Regions from separate parts of the Homo sapiens genome. Here region 2 is linked to region 1. Evidence: promoter capture Hi-C in 16 types of primary human blood cells and fetal thymus (Javierre and others, 2016). All regions are on one chromosome and are shown on one strand. The core of a region is centred on a gene start or on the middle of the fragment in contact, and the rest is flanking DNA. Distances in the headings are between cores, read along the strand shown.

Region 1 (6,997 bases), core at 1,379-3,878:
TAACACGATGAAACCCCATCTCTACTAAAAATACAAAAAATTAGCCGGGCGTGGTGGCGGGCGCCTGTAGTCCCAGCTACTCGGGAGCCTGAAGCAGGAGAATAGCATGAACCTGGGAGGTGGAGCTTGCAGTGAGCCGAGATCGCGCCACTGCACTCCAGCCTGGGCGACAGAGCGAGACTCCGTCTCAAAAAAAAAAAAAAAAAATGGAGAGAAAAAACTTAATCCTAATGTCGTAGTTTAAGCCCCTGAATCCGGCCATGCCTGAAGCCCCAAACTTTTCTATTATGTGAGTCAATGCATTCCATTTGCTGCTTAACCCAGTCTGATTGATGTATTCCATGAAAAAAAGAGAATCTTGAATAATACTGGAAAATGCGAACCCCGTTCCCTGAACCATCATGTAGGATTGCTCACTTCTTCCTCTGCTTTGTCAGCACTTTGCAAATGTCTCAGTGCACAAATACAACTGTATCACAATCACTGTCTCCCCCATCTGTGAGCTCCTCAGGTGGCAGATCTCTATGGACCTTACCCTTGCAAGCCCAACACCCACACAGGGCCTAATACCTCAGGGAAACTAAATTAAGCTAATCTGGTTGTTTGACTTAGGATCTCTCAGGGCCATTTTTTTTGTGTGAACGTGCATCAGACATCTCCAGGCAGGGCTATGGAATGCAGCTGTTTCCAATCTCATTTGATGTGAAAACTCAATTTTTTGGCCAGGTGCAATGGCTCACGCCTATAATCCCAGCACTCTGGGAAGCCAAGGCAGGAGGATTGCTTGAGTTCAGGAGTTTGAGACCAGCCTGGGCAACATTGTGAAACCTTGTCTCTACAAAAAGTAGAAAAATTAGCCAGGCATGGTGGCATGTGCCTGTAGTCCCAACTACTCAGGAGGCTGAGATGGGAGGATCACTTGAGCCTGGATGGTTGAGGCTATGATTGTGCCACTGCACTCCAACCTAGGCAACAGAGCAGACCCATCTCAAAACAAACAAAAAAACACCAAAAAAAAAAAAAAAAACAACCCTCAATTTTTGCAAAAGTTGCTGTGTTAGAGGAATTTAGAGAAAAAATAATTACTATAGTCCTTAGAGTGACCTTGACAAAAGAAGCAGCTTGCCATCAATATTAGTTAAACGAATGAAAGTGAAGAACTTAGTTTAAGACAAGATGGGGAGCAGGAGCAGCACGGTTGGAGGCAGCAGGAACCACAGAAGCAGCAAGCAGGAAGTAGGAGGGGCGATCTGCTGGACATACCTCGGTGACTATGCTGGGCTCAACTGCTGGGGAGCCCTTGGGGTCATAATCCAACCCTGATTTCTTAGTTTACATCTAACAGGGATTAGATGTGCTGTACACATTTTAGTCCATCTTCCTGCCCCATGATGCAGGCGCTGAGTGCCTTTGATGTTAAGCTTCACTGTGCCTCACTTTGCCTCTGAAAGGTCTTGAGTGGGTAATGAGAGCTGATTTTCTTCTAACTGCACATTCCTTTTTTTTTTTTTTTTTGAGACGGAGTCTTGCTATGCTGTCCAGGCTGGTCTCAGACTCCTGGCCTCAACCGATCCTCCCACCTCTGCCTCCTGAGTTAGCTGGGACTACGGGTGCGCACCACTGCGTGACTGCGCGTCCTTGTAGGTGGGAGATGAGCCCAGTTATTTTCCCTGCTGTGTGACCCTGCTTCCTTCTCTGCCGGCTAAGGGAAGAGACACCAGCTGCCTTCCAAGTTGGGCTCAGGAGCTTTGTCATCATAGTTGTTATTGGTGGTAATAATACCTGCCAATGTAAGCCTCGGTCCTATCACTGAAACTCGCTCAACAGCTTAGACCCCGGCTCTTCCCTTTGCGTAATAGTTGTAATCATGTCCCATGGTCTCCTAAGGCGTCGGAGACAAGCAAGACTGCGTGGAAGGGTTTTTACACGAAAAAGAAAGCATTAAACATGTGGATTGTATGACAACGGTAGATAGGGCATAGGGTGAAGAGGAGTAAGAGGAGGAGGGAGAGCGGGAGGAGGGAGAAGAGCACGAGTGGGGAGGAGAGGAGGGGAGGGGATGGGAGGGGAGGGGAAGGAGTGGGTAAGGGGAAGAGGGTTGTACCCGCCAGGGCGGGACCCAGCCTGTGCCGTCCCACACCTTGTGCTAGCTCCAGCTCAGCTACCTGCGGCCGCCTCTCCTCGGGCAATGAGGCGCCGGGAAGCCCACAGCATCTGATAATATCCGGGCCGCCGGTTGCCGGGAGGTGAACCGAGGTAAACTCGCCGCGCGCGGGGCGCAGTGTACATAGTAACCAGCCCTGAGTAAACGTTCGTCATATTCCTATGAGCTGCTCCGGGGACTGTCCTACGGGGCTAGCAGGAAAAGGAGATCGGCTCTCTCCGCTCCCGGTGGAAAACGAGAAGGTCGCCAGAGGTCCTGTTTTCGGGGTGATCTAAAGCCCCCGCCCCAGCGCTACAGCCCAAGCCCCCCACAGGCTGGGGACCAGGAACCCGGAGGAGCGGGAGGAGGGCGCGCGCGGCGAGACACCCCCACCCCGGCCCCCGCGCGCCCCCGCCCCGGTCCCCGCCCGGGTCCCCGCCTTGTCCTGGGCTCTGGCGCCTGCGCCGCCGTGCGCGCGCCCTGCCAGAACAGGAGGGGACGAGGCGGGCGCGCGGCGCCGGCAGCCTAGCTCAGCCGGGACACCGCCCTAGTCCCAGCCCAGGGGGCCGCTCTCGCCGGCGTCGAGGGCGTGGCGGCGAGGCTGCTGCTGCAGGCGGCTCCCGGCTCTGCCTTCGGCCCCGCCCGCCGCCCACCAGGCTCCCAGAGGCCCCGCAGCTCGCGCCGTCCGGCTCCCCGCAGCCCCGTCGGGCAGCCCGGGCCCGTCCGCTGCCCTCCCGGCTCCCGTCCTGCGGCGGCGGGGCGTGCAGGTGAGGCCCCACGGCGCCCGGCCTCTCCAGCAGGTTTGCACCCAGCGCGGGGCGGGGCGGGGCGGGGCGGGTGGGGGGGGTGGTGCATGAAAAGTTAAAAAAAAAAAAAAAAAAAAAAAAGCCGCCCCGAGAAGTCCGGGAGGGGTGGGCACTCCGAGCCGCGGGACCGGGAGATGCTACCGCGCGCGACCTCGCCTCCCGCGACCTCGCCTCCCGCCGCACCCTTCTCGCGCGCGGGGTCTAGTCTGGCAGCCTCGAGGGTGGTGTCCCGGAAAACAAAACAAAAATGTTTTGTCTTCTCCACCAACGATTTTCTCCCACCAAGTGTGTTTGACCTTTTGAAAAGCCGACAGGCCCAGCCTGCCTGTGAAGGCAGGAGCGGTGTAGGGGCGCCTGGAAGGTGGAAGCCCCCTGTCTTTCTCCCTTGCCCCGCTTCCCCCACGGTGCGTGGATCACCATCGCATTAGTGACTCCCTAACTTCTTGAAACTTGTCTGTCTGCTTCTGTCCGCCGCCTGGACAGGTAGGGCAGGAGTGATCTGTTCCAGGTTGATTCTTCTAGCTTCCGTGCAAAATCTGATCATCTCCTTTAGAGATTAGGATTCTAGTGTAGGAAGCAATCCAGATCCGTGTTTCAGATACAAACAAGGATTATTTAAAGTGATGTTTTCCTGTAGTGCTGAAAGCCAAAAATATTCGCTTCCACTTGTTGGAAGCCACCAAGTACACCACATTTATTTGAACTTTTCATAGAAGTCTCTGATGTACTATTTGGCAAAAGAAGCAATTGATTTATCTGTAGCTGTGATTACATACGATGTAAAGTAATTTGTTTTAAGACTATTTCATTGGCTTTGGTTCAATATCTTAAACTCTGTAAACACATAATTCAGGAGCCAGATATGCATCACACAAATGTGTTCTTTTTGGTGGGGATTTAAATTGATCTAGAAATGGGCTTTCCATCCAGGAAGACTGTGAAAAGCTTGAAAACTGAGTCTCTTCTTTAGCCAGGTCATCAGCTTTACATTTTACTGCATTGGCAAGCCTTGCCTTTTCTTTTCTCTTCTCTTCTCTTTTCTTCTTTTTGAGACAAGGCCTCGCTCTGTCATCCAGCTGAAGTGCAGTGGTGCAAACACAGCTCACTGCAGCCTCAACTTCCCAGGATCAAGCGATCCTCCCACCTCTCAGCGTCCTGAGTAGCTGGGACTACAGATGCCGGCTAATTTTTTGTAGAGATTGGGTGTCACTATGTTGCCCAGGCTGTTCTTGAACTCCTGGGCTCAAGCCATCCGCCCACCTCTGCCTCCCAAAGTGCTGAGATTACAGGCATGAGCCACCGCACCCAGCCAAACCTTTTCTCTCTTAGCCTGAAAACAGATTTCAGTGCTTTTCTAGGAAACAAGATTTTTCCTGCTGTTGAAATATAACGTTTGTAAAGGTTTCAAACATGTGAACATTAGGTAACAGACAAGAGCAGATTTTATATGGTGTTAGAGTTGTTGGTTGAAGGACTTAAAGCATGAAAAATAGTGTGACGCGGAAATCCATTAGCCTGAAGCCTGTGAAATAATGGAAGCTCTAAAGTTCAACACCGTTTGTTACTTAGAAAAAAAACACAGAAGGTGGAGGTCGGACAGCAATCTCCACTTTTCCCCTAGAATGTAGAGGTTCTATCCAGGGAAAAGAAATTATACACAGCACAACAAATAGCATCAGTCTTATATATCTCAACTTCAGTTATTCTTTAAAACCTGTTGTTTTCATATGTTTTGTAGGCTGGTTTTTGTTGTTTATTTCTATCTGTCTCTTGCTGACAAATTCCTGGTGGAGTGGAACTTCAATTATAACAGGACCAATTCTAGGTTATCTGTGAAAACAAGACATGGGTCATTGAAACATACAAAATACAAAAATCAAATTTTCACCCGTTTTACTTTACTGTCGCACGAAATTTTTCTTACACACAGCTACTAAAAAATAGTACAGTTCTACCTGTAAGTGGTAAATGAGTAGAGAATAGAAGGTAGGGCTTCGTGATAGCCGTTCAGAACTTCGCATTGACGATCCTAAGTGGCTTTTTGTTGTTGCTTTGTTTTTTTTTTTCTCTTTTTTCTTTTTTTTTTTTTTTTTTTTTCTTTTTTTTGAGATCTCCTTCTGTTGCCCAGGCTGGAGTGCAGTGGTGCAAACACAGCTCACTGCAGCCTTGGCCTCCCAGGCTCAAGTATTCCTCCCACCACAGCCTTCTGAGTAGCTGGGACTACAGGCGTGCACCATGTGTTTTTTTGTAGAGACGGGGTTTTTCCATGTTGCCCGGGCTGGTCTCGAACTCTGGAGCTCTGGCAGCCCGCCTGCCTCCGCCTCCCAAAGTGCTGGGATTACAGGCATGAGCCACCACACCAGTCCAAGTGTTTTGTTTTGTTTAACTTAGTTGAAATTTTTAATTTAGAAATTTAAAAAAGGAACTTAGTAGCCCAAAGCACCTATGTTTATTTTATATATTTTATACACTTTATGTATTTTATCTTGTTCATTTTATAAATACAGAAAAACCAAGGGATTTTTCCCAAGGTTATACAGCAGGACACTTGTAGAGCTGATAATGGAGCACTTGTTTGCTTCCAGTATTGTTTGGTAGCATTTTTAACATACAAAAAAAGTGAAAAGTACATCTAGCTAAGATACTGAAATGTTCACCAAGTTGGGAAGCCTATTAATTTGAAAAATTATTATTATTTTAATCCTGGAGGAGAAAGAATTTGCGTTTTCCTGATCAGAACAGAAAATGCAAGATCCATGCCATGTGCTTGACATTTTGCCTTGATAGATGACTTTTGTCACAGGCCTGTTGTGGCAGAGCAGATGGTCATGCTACTTGGAGTTTTTCCACTCATTTGATATTTCCATGAAGAAACAATTTGCCAGAAGCCAGCCGTAGTTAGAGTTGTGCTGGAGATGACGGGAAACCTGGATTAGCACAGACTTTTGCTTACAGGAGCTGGAGGATATCGGTTCAGCCCTTTCTGCTGGGCCAGTCAAGAGTTCCCTGGATTGGTAAACTGAGGAACAGTTTAGTCTTGTGATAGTTGGAGTGGAGCTATAATTATACCACTGCACTCTAGCCCGCATGACAGAGACCCTGTCTCTAAAAAAGGAAAAAGAAAGAAATATAGATATCTTGGGACAAACGACAAATAATTTGACAATAATCTAAAGAAAAATTGAAGGAAAATAGCTAAGACATTATTAGGATAACTGATAAAATTTGAATCCAGATTATGCATTTGACAAATTATGTATTAGATAATAGTATTATATCAATGTTAAATTTCCTGTTTTTGATAATTATCCTATGGGTTATATAAGAAAATGATCTTGTTCTTATACACTGAAGTATTTGGAAGTAAAAGGGGTATGCTCCATCTTTCAATGGCTCAGGAAAATGCATGTCTATAAAAATAGAGAAAGATAAAGCAGATGGTCAAAACAGAAGGAATTGGTGACTCTGGGTAAAGGATACAGCATACCCGAGTTCCTTGTGCTATTCTTATAACTTCTGTTTGAAGTTATATCAAAAAAAAAAAAAAGGTACTCAAAATTGAAGGTAGAAAACAGGAAATGAAGGTGTGATATTCTAAGAATTTTTTTTTTTTTAAGTCAGGTGAAGGATTATTTCCTGTGTTCTGTTTTTTAAAATCTTTTTACGGGTTAGACGAGGGAACTTGAAACAAACAAATCTTATCAAGAATAGGTTGACTTTCTCAAATTTCAAAATCTAGTCAGCCAGAGCTCCCCAACTTACCAGCCTCCAAAAACCCGGGCACAGTATTTTCTCTACCTCTTTTTAATGGGTTGGGAATAGGATAGAAACATTAGTGCCTCTAAGAGATAAGATACAAAGACAGCCCACCTTTAGAGATACTAAAAGTTAAATTGCACTTGGTTTTATCATTTCCCTGCCTAAAAACCCACAATGGCATGCTGATATTGACATGGTTTTTGTGTCAAAACTCTGTAACCCTACTTGCTTGGCAACCTGGCCCATACCTGCCTTTCCGACTGTCTCATGCCACCCCCACCAAACACCT
Region 2 (7,255 bases), core at 1,563-4,062, 420 kb after region 1:
CACACCTTCAGCCCTGTTGTTAAGAGCTCTGTGGTGTTACTGGGTGCGTGTCTTTCATGGAAAGCCATCTTCCTGGAATTCAGACAGAATGTAGAACTAAAAATTGAGGCAACAAGCAGAGGTTTCCATCAGACTTCTTAGTTCTGGCAGAAGTCAAGAGACCCAGGCAAGGGTTCTGGGTCCCAACCCCCAGTCTTAACTCCCAAAGTGTCCCATCTCCTAAAGTGGCCCAGATTGTCACTGTCAACCACTGACTGTTCTCTCAGGTGGGAATTTCCCAGTCAGCAGGATGGGCACTGCAGATGTGTGTCTGCATGCCAGCGGACCCGGCACCCTCCTTCCTCCCTGCCAACCGCCTCCACCTCTCCCACTCAGCAGTTCACACCTTCTGGGTTTCCCCCACCCCCGCCCAAACCACACAGTAATCAGAGAATCAGTGGCTGTCACCGCTCAAAGGGACCTCAAAGTCCTCCTCCAGTCCCAGGCATTTGAAGTAACAAAATCTCTAACATGTATCCAGCTCTCAATATGCGCCAGCTGATACACTTGTGTCAATTTCCCTAACCTTCCCAAAATCTCATGAGGTAGGTACCATTATCATCCCCATCTCACAGATGAGGAAACTGAGGCACAGAGTGGTTAAGTCATTTGCCCAATGTCATCCAGCAAGTCATTAGCAGAGCTGGGACTCAAACGCAGGGTGGCTGATACTAGAATGCAGGCTCTCAAAGACCTCGAGCCTCTGAAGGCTGAACGCCTTAGCCACAGTTCCTCAGACATCGGAACTCCTCCTCAGATCACTTCCTGCCTCCCAGGACCACTGAGACTGGTTATGGACCTCTGAGAGGAGATGGATGAGAGAATGGTTTATAAACTCAGCCTCTTGCATCTCCCAGAGCCACAGTCCCAGCCTCGGCCATTCCTGCTACAAGGACAAGCTCCCAACCAACGCCTTGGAAACCCATTTCCCTCCCTGCAGGCCTGGGGAGGGGGGCTCAAGGTCTGTGGGCATGAAAACCCCTAAAAAAATCATTCTCAGTGTGCAGAATGGCCAGACAAGGTCTCGGTAACTCAGAAAATCGTCGTCTCTTCTCTTTCTCTCGCTTCCCAGGAGAGAGAGTGGGAAGGGAGAATCAAGTTCCTGATGCCTTGCTGGGCTCCCAGATCGACAGCACCTTCTGCCCGCCTCGCAACAGGCAGCAGCTATAGTGCTCCTGACACATACCTGGGCTAGCAGACCTGGCCACTGCCCCGCAGTCAGCAGAGCTCATCAGCCTTGTCTGCCACCGACCAAGGACCAGTGACTGTCCTCTCAGGGTTGGGATTAAGTCGCAAAGGGTTTGAGAGATTGGGGATGACAAAAGGGACTTGGAGACTAATTAGGAGCAGCAATGAAAGCTTAATTCATAAAAGCAAACATTTTCCATCCATCAACCTGCAACCAGTTAAGGGCACCGTTTGAAAGAAATCTGTGTGTGGGGAAGGGAGCCAACAGGAACAGGAAATGTTTGAAAGAATGTAAACTATTTCAGTTTCATAAAAAGTAACAAGTAAACAGTTATTACATGCAAATAATGTCCTGGTTTTAATTAATGCTGAAAAGTCAAAATATGGCTGACATTTGTATGTATACATCGAACGGCTGGAAAGGAAAAAATGGTGCCCAGATGCCTGTTTCAGAGCGGGGCTGGCAGCTCAGAGGGAACTAGAACCTTGAGAAGGTCCTGTTTATTGGTGATGAAAAGCACGGTTCTGCTTCAGCCACTTCAGCCTGCTGTGGAGTTGGGGAGCAGAGGGAACCCAGCTTACTTCTTAACAAAGCTAGAGGCGGGCCTGGTGCTTGGGAAGGGCGACTCCCACTTCAGCCACTTCTCGTAGGCAGGCTGGTCTTAAAGGGCCAGTGGACCCTCAGGCCTCCGTTCCACAGGGGCAGGGTTTCCAGGACTTTCCCATCCAGGAGTTAAGTGATGATGGGTTTCAGGTCCCAGAAGCCTCCCATTCAACAGCCCCCCACCCCCGTCCCGCCTTCCTTCTGCTGCTCAAGGTCGGTCAGACAGGCAGGGTGGCACACCCGCCTTGACTCTGGGGCAGGAGATGGCAGCCTTCGAGCTGTGCTTTCCAACATTCAGCTGCGTTAGCTTCCGTTCTAGACCACCTAGGGCTCAAAGGCGCTGGGAAACTGGGTCTGGGAGACCACAGCTGGAGAGACAGCCTCAGAGTGTGGGGGATATTCTGCCCCCTATGGAGAGAGTGGCTGGGGTGCTTGGGCCCCACAGATCAGGGACTTGTCCTGCAACCGCCTTGCTGAAAGACCTATAAGCTCCCTTTTTGAGCTTGTTAATCCACCATCTCCTGCCAGCATTTTTTGTGAGACCAGGTGTGCTTAACCGGGAAAGAGGGGGTGGCATGAACGGTTTCAGGAGTTGGTAAACCCTAGAAACTGGGAGAAAATTGTCTTTTTCTGGCAAGAGACCATAACTTTCCTCACCTCCTCAAAGCGATCTGTAATATCCTACAGGATTACAAATTGCTGTTTTTAGACAGAGCTGCATCTGGAGACCTGTTTTTCGGGATTCTAAGGCCCCTCTTTCAACCTCCTTCCCTGCTGCCCCTGCCATTGCCAATGCTGAAATGGCGAGGCCTCCCTTCCACTTACCTCGCCCACTGCGGCCCACGAAGCGAAGGTCGTTGAACCTGGCCACCTGGTTCTTCATGACGGCCGAGGCATTGCGCAGCTCAGCGGAGTAGTTCTCGTCATTGCCTGCCATCACAGTCACCACCGTACCATCCGGCACGTCCCCCAATGCCACCACCTGAAGACACGGGGCGGGGGGATGCAGGGGGACAGCTTAGAAAGGAAGAGGGTGACCAGGGAAAGGAGGGGAGGGGCTGGGCTGGGCAGCTCCCCCAGGTCCCAGGCACACTGAGTATTTCTCCAATGCAGGGTGGAGAAGAGGCTTAAAAACAATAAAGACCTTCCCCCAAATATCACGAAAACAAGAAGATGGAATCTCGAGCTTCCACACCAAAATCCTAGATCAACTGCTTACATAAACTGTGTCCCAAGAAATCATCCTTTCAATGAAATCTAAGCCAGAGCTGTGAATCAGCTCAGTCACTATGATGTGGGGTGCAGTTCCCCTGTTGTCTTCGGCTGCAGCGAAAGAGGAATCAACATGCTCCTAGCAACGAAGTCTCCAAATGAGAAAGAGTAACAACAATAATAACAACAGGGCTGCTACCCCCACTCAATTTATGCAAGAGCTGTTTAGGGCATGAAATTTGGCCCTGAAATGTGGACCAGGCCCAGTTTATTGGCCTCTGCAGAGCCTAAATTCGTTATGCAGAGAAAATGCAGAATGCAAAACTCACTGGTGTTTTGAAAAAGGCCACCAGAAAACCCCTTTAAAGTGAGAGTGGGGCTTTTGATAATGGAAGGATGCACCTGCCGGGAATTGCAGGATGGGGGTGGCGATGTCCCCCTAAACACCATCTCCCCCAAATCCCCCACCCCCAGGAGCACGGAGAGGCGGATGCCTTTTGAAAAAGAATCAGACTTTAAACAGAGTCACAACTATTTAAACGTGGCCGCCGCGTGCAGGGACTGGGGATCCATATGGTAAAAATTTCAAGGAGAAAATGTTTGGGATCTGATTAAGAAGACCAGATTTCCTGTCAACATCCTGTCTTCTTTTAATTTCAAAGACTCCTTTTAAGCTCCAAGTGACAGTAAAACCTCCGATCTGACGATTAAAGTCACACGGGCCTCCCGCCCCTCCCGGCGAGATTTCCCCCACTGGTATTTTAAGATGTCACCCGGGAGACCTCAAAGAGCCACTCTTCCTTTTTTTCCCATTTAGAGTCGTCTTAATGGGAGCAGGGACGGCCTCAGCTTCCAGCCACCTCGGGCAGCACCACCCCCAGCCGCCGGCCCTTCCTGCCCTGCCCTTTTCTCACGGCAGCTGTGAGAGGTTTAGGGGAAAACCGAGGCGTTTTCGTTTCATCTCGCTGCCCCCTTAAAAAAATGAAAATGAAACAGTCGCCTACTCCCTGGCATAAAGAAAAAGGTCCTCTAAATGGCTGGGGGCTGCCAGGGTTAGGGGTCCCCCAATCTCAACTCGCCATTCGGGACGCATAATATCCCCGAGCAAACGTCTGGAGAGCAGTGCCCCGATCCCGGCCTAGCGCCGTCCGGTAAAATTTCGGAAGCCCGAGGGTGTGAGCAGGAAGCTTTTGCGAAGCGGCGCGGGAGGAGGGGTGCTGGAGGCGGAGGGTAGGCCCTTTCACCGTTCGCACCCCACCCGCGGTGTCCTTGCCCCTGTCCCGGGATCCTCTTCTCCGTTACCCGCAGGGCTGTATCTGAGCGATCCGGGTTAGGGGGGCGCAAAACCCCATCCGCCCATTTCCGCACCAACGTCTCTACGCAAGGCGCCCCAAAACCCAGGTGGAGCGGGGCAACCCCGTTAAAAGTCATTCCTGCAGGGCGCATCCAAAACGGAACGCCGAGGTCCCGGAGCCGAGCGCGCAGCCAGACTGAACCGGGTGCCCGGGTGTCGCCGCGGCGTCTCGGGCACCTCCCATCCCCACTGCTCCCGAGGCTCTGGCTCCCGCAGCTCAGACGCCCGGAGCCCCAGGGCCGGCGCCCTCCCGCCCCGGGTCCCGCACTCACCTTGAAGGCGACGGGCAGCGTCTTGTTGCAGCGCCAGTGCGAGGGCAGCACGGAGCAGAGGAAGTTGGGGCTGTCGGTGCGCACGAGCTCGCCTGCGTGGTCCGCCAGCACGTCCACCATCGAGCGCACCTCGGGCCGGGCGCGCCCTCCGGGCCCCACGGCCGCCTGCGCGCTCAGCGCGCCGCTGTTCTCGCCCATCTTGCCGCCGCCGCCGCCGCAGGGGAAGGCCGGGGAGGGAGGTGTGAAGCGGCGGCTGGTGCTTGGGTCTACGGGAATACGCATAACAGCGGCCGTCAGGGCGCCGGGCAGGCGGAGACGGCGCGGCTTCCCCCGGGGGCGGCCGGCGCGGGCGCCTCCTCGGCCGCCGCTGCCGCGAGAAGCGGGAAAGCAGAAGCGGCGGGGCCCGGGCCTCAGGGCGCAGGGGGCGGCGCCCGGCCACTACTCGCCAGGGCCCGCCCGCTGCGAGGCCTCGCTGGCCCGACGGCCGCCCGCAGCCTGCCCGGCTAGTCCCGCATCCTCGGCGCGCGGCCCCGCGTGCGGCCGCCCCTCGTGGCTGTCCCGGCTGCCTGGGCCGCGGCGGGGCCCGCGCGGGGCTGTGCCGCTGCCGCCGCCTCCCGCCCCGAAGCTCGCCCGCGGCCGCCCCGACTCCGCGGCCGCAGCCCCAGAACAAATCCTCCAGAATCAAGTGGCGGGGCCGCGGCCGCCCGCGCGGGGTTAGTACCCCCGGGGCCCGCGGGGCGGGGCTGGCGGAGCGACGCGTCGCACAGCCAATCGGCGGAGCCCCCATCGCGGGCACCTCGGTGGCGTTCGCGGGGAGGAACGGGGCCTGCCGGAGGCCGCCCAACGGGGAGGGGCGGAAGGCGCCACCCCGCGGAGGAGGCCCCAGTGCCACAGCCCAGGGCCCCCGAGAGCTCTGGGAGCCCGGGGCAAATGCTAGAAATTTGCTTAGAACGTCCGGGTCCCACGGAAGGCGCCCTTGCCGCCCTCTCTCGGGTCGTAGCTCCCTGACGCTGGGGCGCAACCCCTTCGCTCCTCCTCCCCGCTGGCCGCGGCCGGGCTTCCCCAGCTCTTGCTGCTTCGGGCCTGTGACTTCTGCAACCCCGGGCTGGGGGCCGCGGGGTCTCAGGGCCGGTGACGCCGCACTGGGAGCCGCCCCAAAGAGGTTACTCACCTCCCTCGTCCCGCACATTATTCTGACCCAAGAGCCTCCACCCCACACGGGATTTTGCGCGTCGTCCACGCCCGGCCGGCGGCCTTTGCTGCTCCCAGCCCTGCGCGGCTTTGGTCCCAGCCTCGGTGGCCCCTGTGCCAAACCGGGGACAGGCGGAAGGGAGTCTCCTAGGGACCCTAAGTAGCCTGGGGCCAACAACCCCTTTCCTCTCTGCTCTCCCCTCAAAACAAGTTTCAGGATCTTGCAGGCCTCGCGGCGTCGTTCTTCGTTGTGGCGGCCTGTGGCTCTTTGAAAAACACGACGAGGCCTGCAAAATGCGTTTTTCTTTTTTTCCTTTACGCATGTAACCACGGTCCTGCATCGTGAAACGGTACGCGCGTCGGTGGCAAAAGAAAAACAGCAGTGGCTGCAAAGCTAAGGGCCCTCGCTTTCAGAGGAGAGAATTTTCTTTCTCCATGCGGGTGGAAAGTGGCCTCTGCGGGTCCAACCCCACTTCTTCTTGGGCCCGTGCGCTCCGGCTGCGCCGCAGGGACCGCGGACAGCTTCGCCAAGGCACTGCCTGCCCGCCCGGCTCCGGGTCCCCGCTCCCACTCCCAGCCGCGTGGCCCAACCTCTCCTGGGCTTCACTGCAAATCACCCCTTCCTCTCCCGCCTCCTAAGTCTGTCGAGCAGACCTAGGGGCCGGCTACAGTTGGGAGGGCAACGGGAAAGATCAAGCCACAATCATTCCGAATTATCGCCCCAGACACCTCCCTAGACTCTGGGGAACGAACGCGTGCTGAGCCTCCCCGCCGCTTTGGAGACGGGGCTAGATTTTCGTTGCCTCCGGCTCTCGACAGGTGCAAAACAATGAATTCCAAGCCTCGGAAGCAAAGAAGCTTAGGATCCGACGGTGGCCGCAAGATCTCATCATGGATCTGACCCCTGCTCAGCGCGCGCCATTTCGTCGTTGCCAAACGAAATCAAGCCCCGCGTGCGCTCCAGGGGCGAAGGACTCTGGACTCACCCCGACCACCGGGAGAGCTGGCCCCTACCCACCTCGGGACCTCACAGCACGCCCTCAGGCCGTGTCGAAAGGAAGGACGGCAAAGGTCCCTTACTGAACCTTTTAAGAGAGCCTGCGCCTGGCAGTTGTCGATTGCGGACCCAGGCCCGCGCGCCCTCGGACGCGCTGGCACGAGCAGCAGAACTAGAGGAAAGCGAGTGATCCAGCCTGGGCGCTCCCACCTCCGGGAACGTCTCCGAGAAGGCGCAGCGCGTCGTGGCCAGGTAGGGCCCTGGCCGGGGGCGGGCAACACGTGCTGCCCTCGAGCAGGTTGCGGGACCATGACCCGCTGTTTCAGGTGGTGGTAAATTCCATTTGTCGAATGGTTTCGGTTTGCACCGTGCCCTTTGCTTGTTCCTCCGCCTGATTT

Evidence for each region. Contacts are between HindIII fragments. The CHiCAGO score rates a contact against its expected background, and 5 or more counts as called.
Region 2: a fragment that was not itself captured here is called in contact with the fragment with the promoter of RCAN3 in region 1 in 1 of 17 cell types (non-activated CD4 T cells); the score reaches 5.7 in non-activated CD4 T cells.

What each region holds. Positions count from the first base shown.
Region 1 is chr1:24,500,208-24,507,204 of GRCh38, forward strand. It overlaps RCAN3 (RCAN family member 3), which reads left to right and starts at 2,629. Exons shown (of 5, transcript NM_013441.4): 1 at 2,629-2,943. RCAN3AS (RCAN3 antisense RNA) reads right to left here and starts at 2,175. Exons shown (of 2, transcript NR_144360.1): 1 at 2,141-2,175. RefSeq lists an enhancer at 1,315-1,414 and silencers at 2,018-2,190, 2,472-2,971, 4,478-4,678. The HindIII fragment of the contact is 2,473 bases long and covers 1,420-3,892 here.
Region 2 is chr1:24,924,918-24,932,172 of GRCh38, forward strand. It overlaps RUNX3 (RUNX family transcription factor 3), which reads right to left and starts at 5,359. Exons shown (of 5, transcript NM_004350.3): 1 at 4,670-5,359; 2 at 2,657-2,813. The coding sequence starts at 4,951. It overlaps RUNX3-AS1 (RUNX3 antisense RNA 1), which reads left to right and starts at 5,540. Exons shown (of 4, transcript NR_183341.1): 1 at 5,540-7,109. RefSeq lists enhancers at 1,884-2,153, 3,565-4,299, 3,948-4,127, 4,300-5,033, 6,473-7,062 and silencers at 4,598-5,037, 5,238-5,707. The HindIII fragment of the contact is 2,832 bases long and covers 1,397-4,228 here.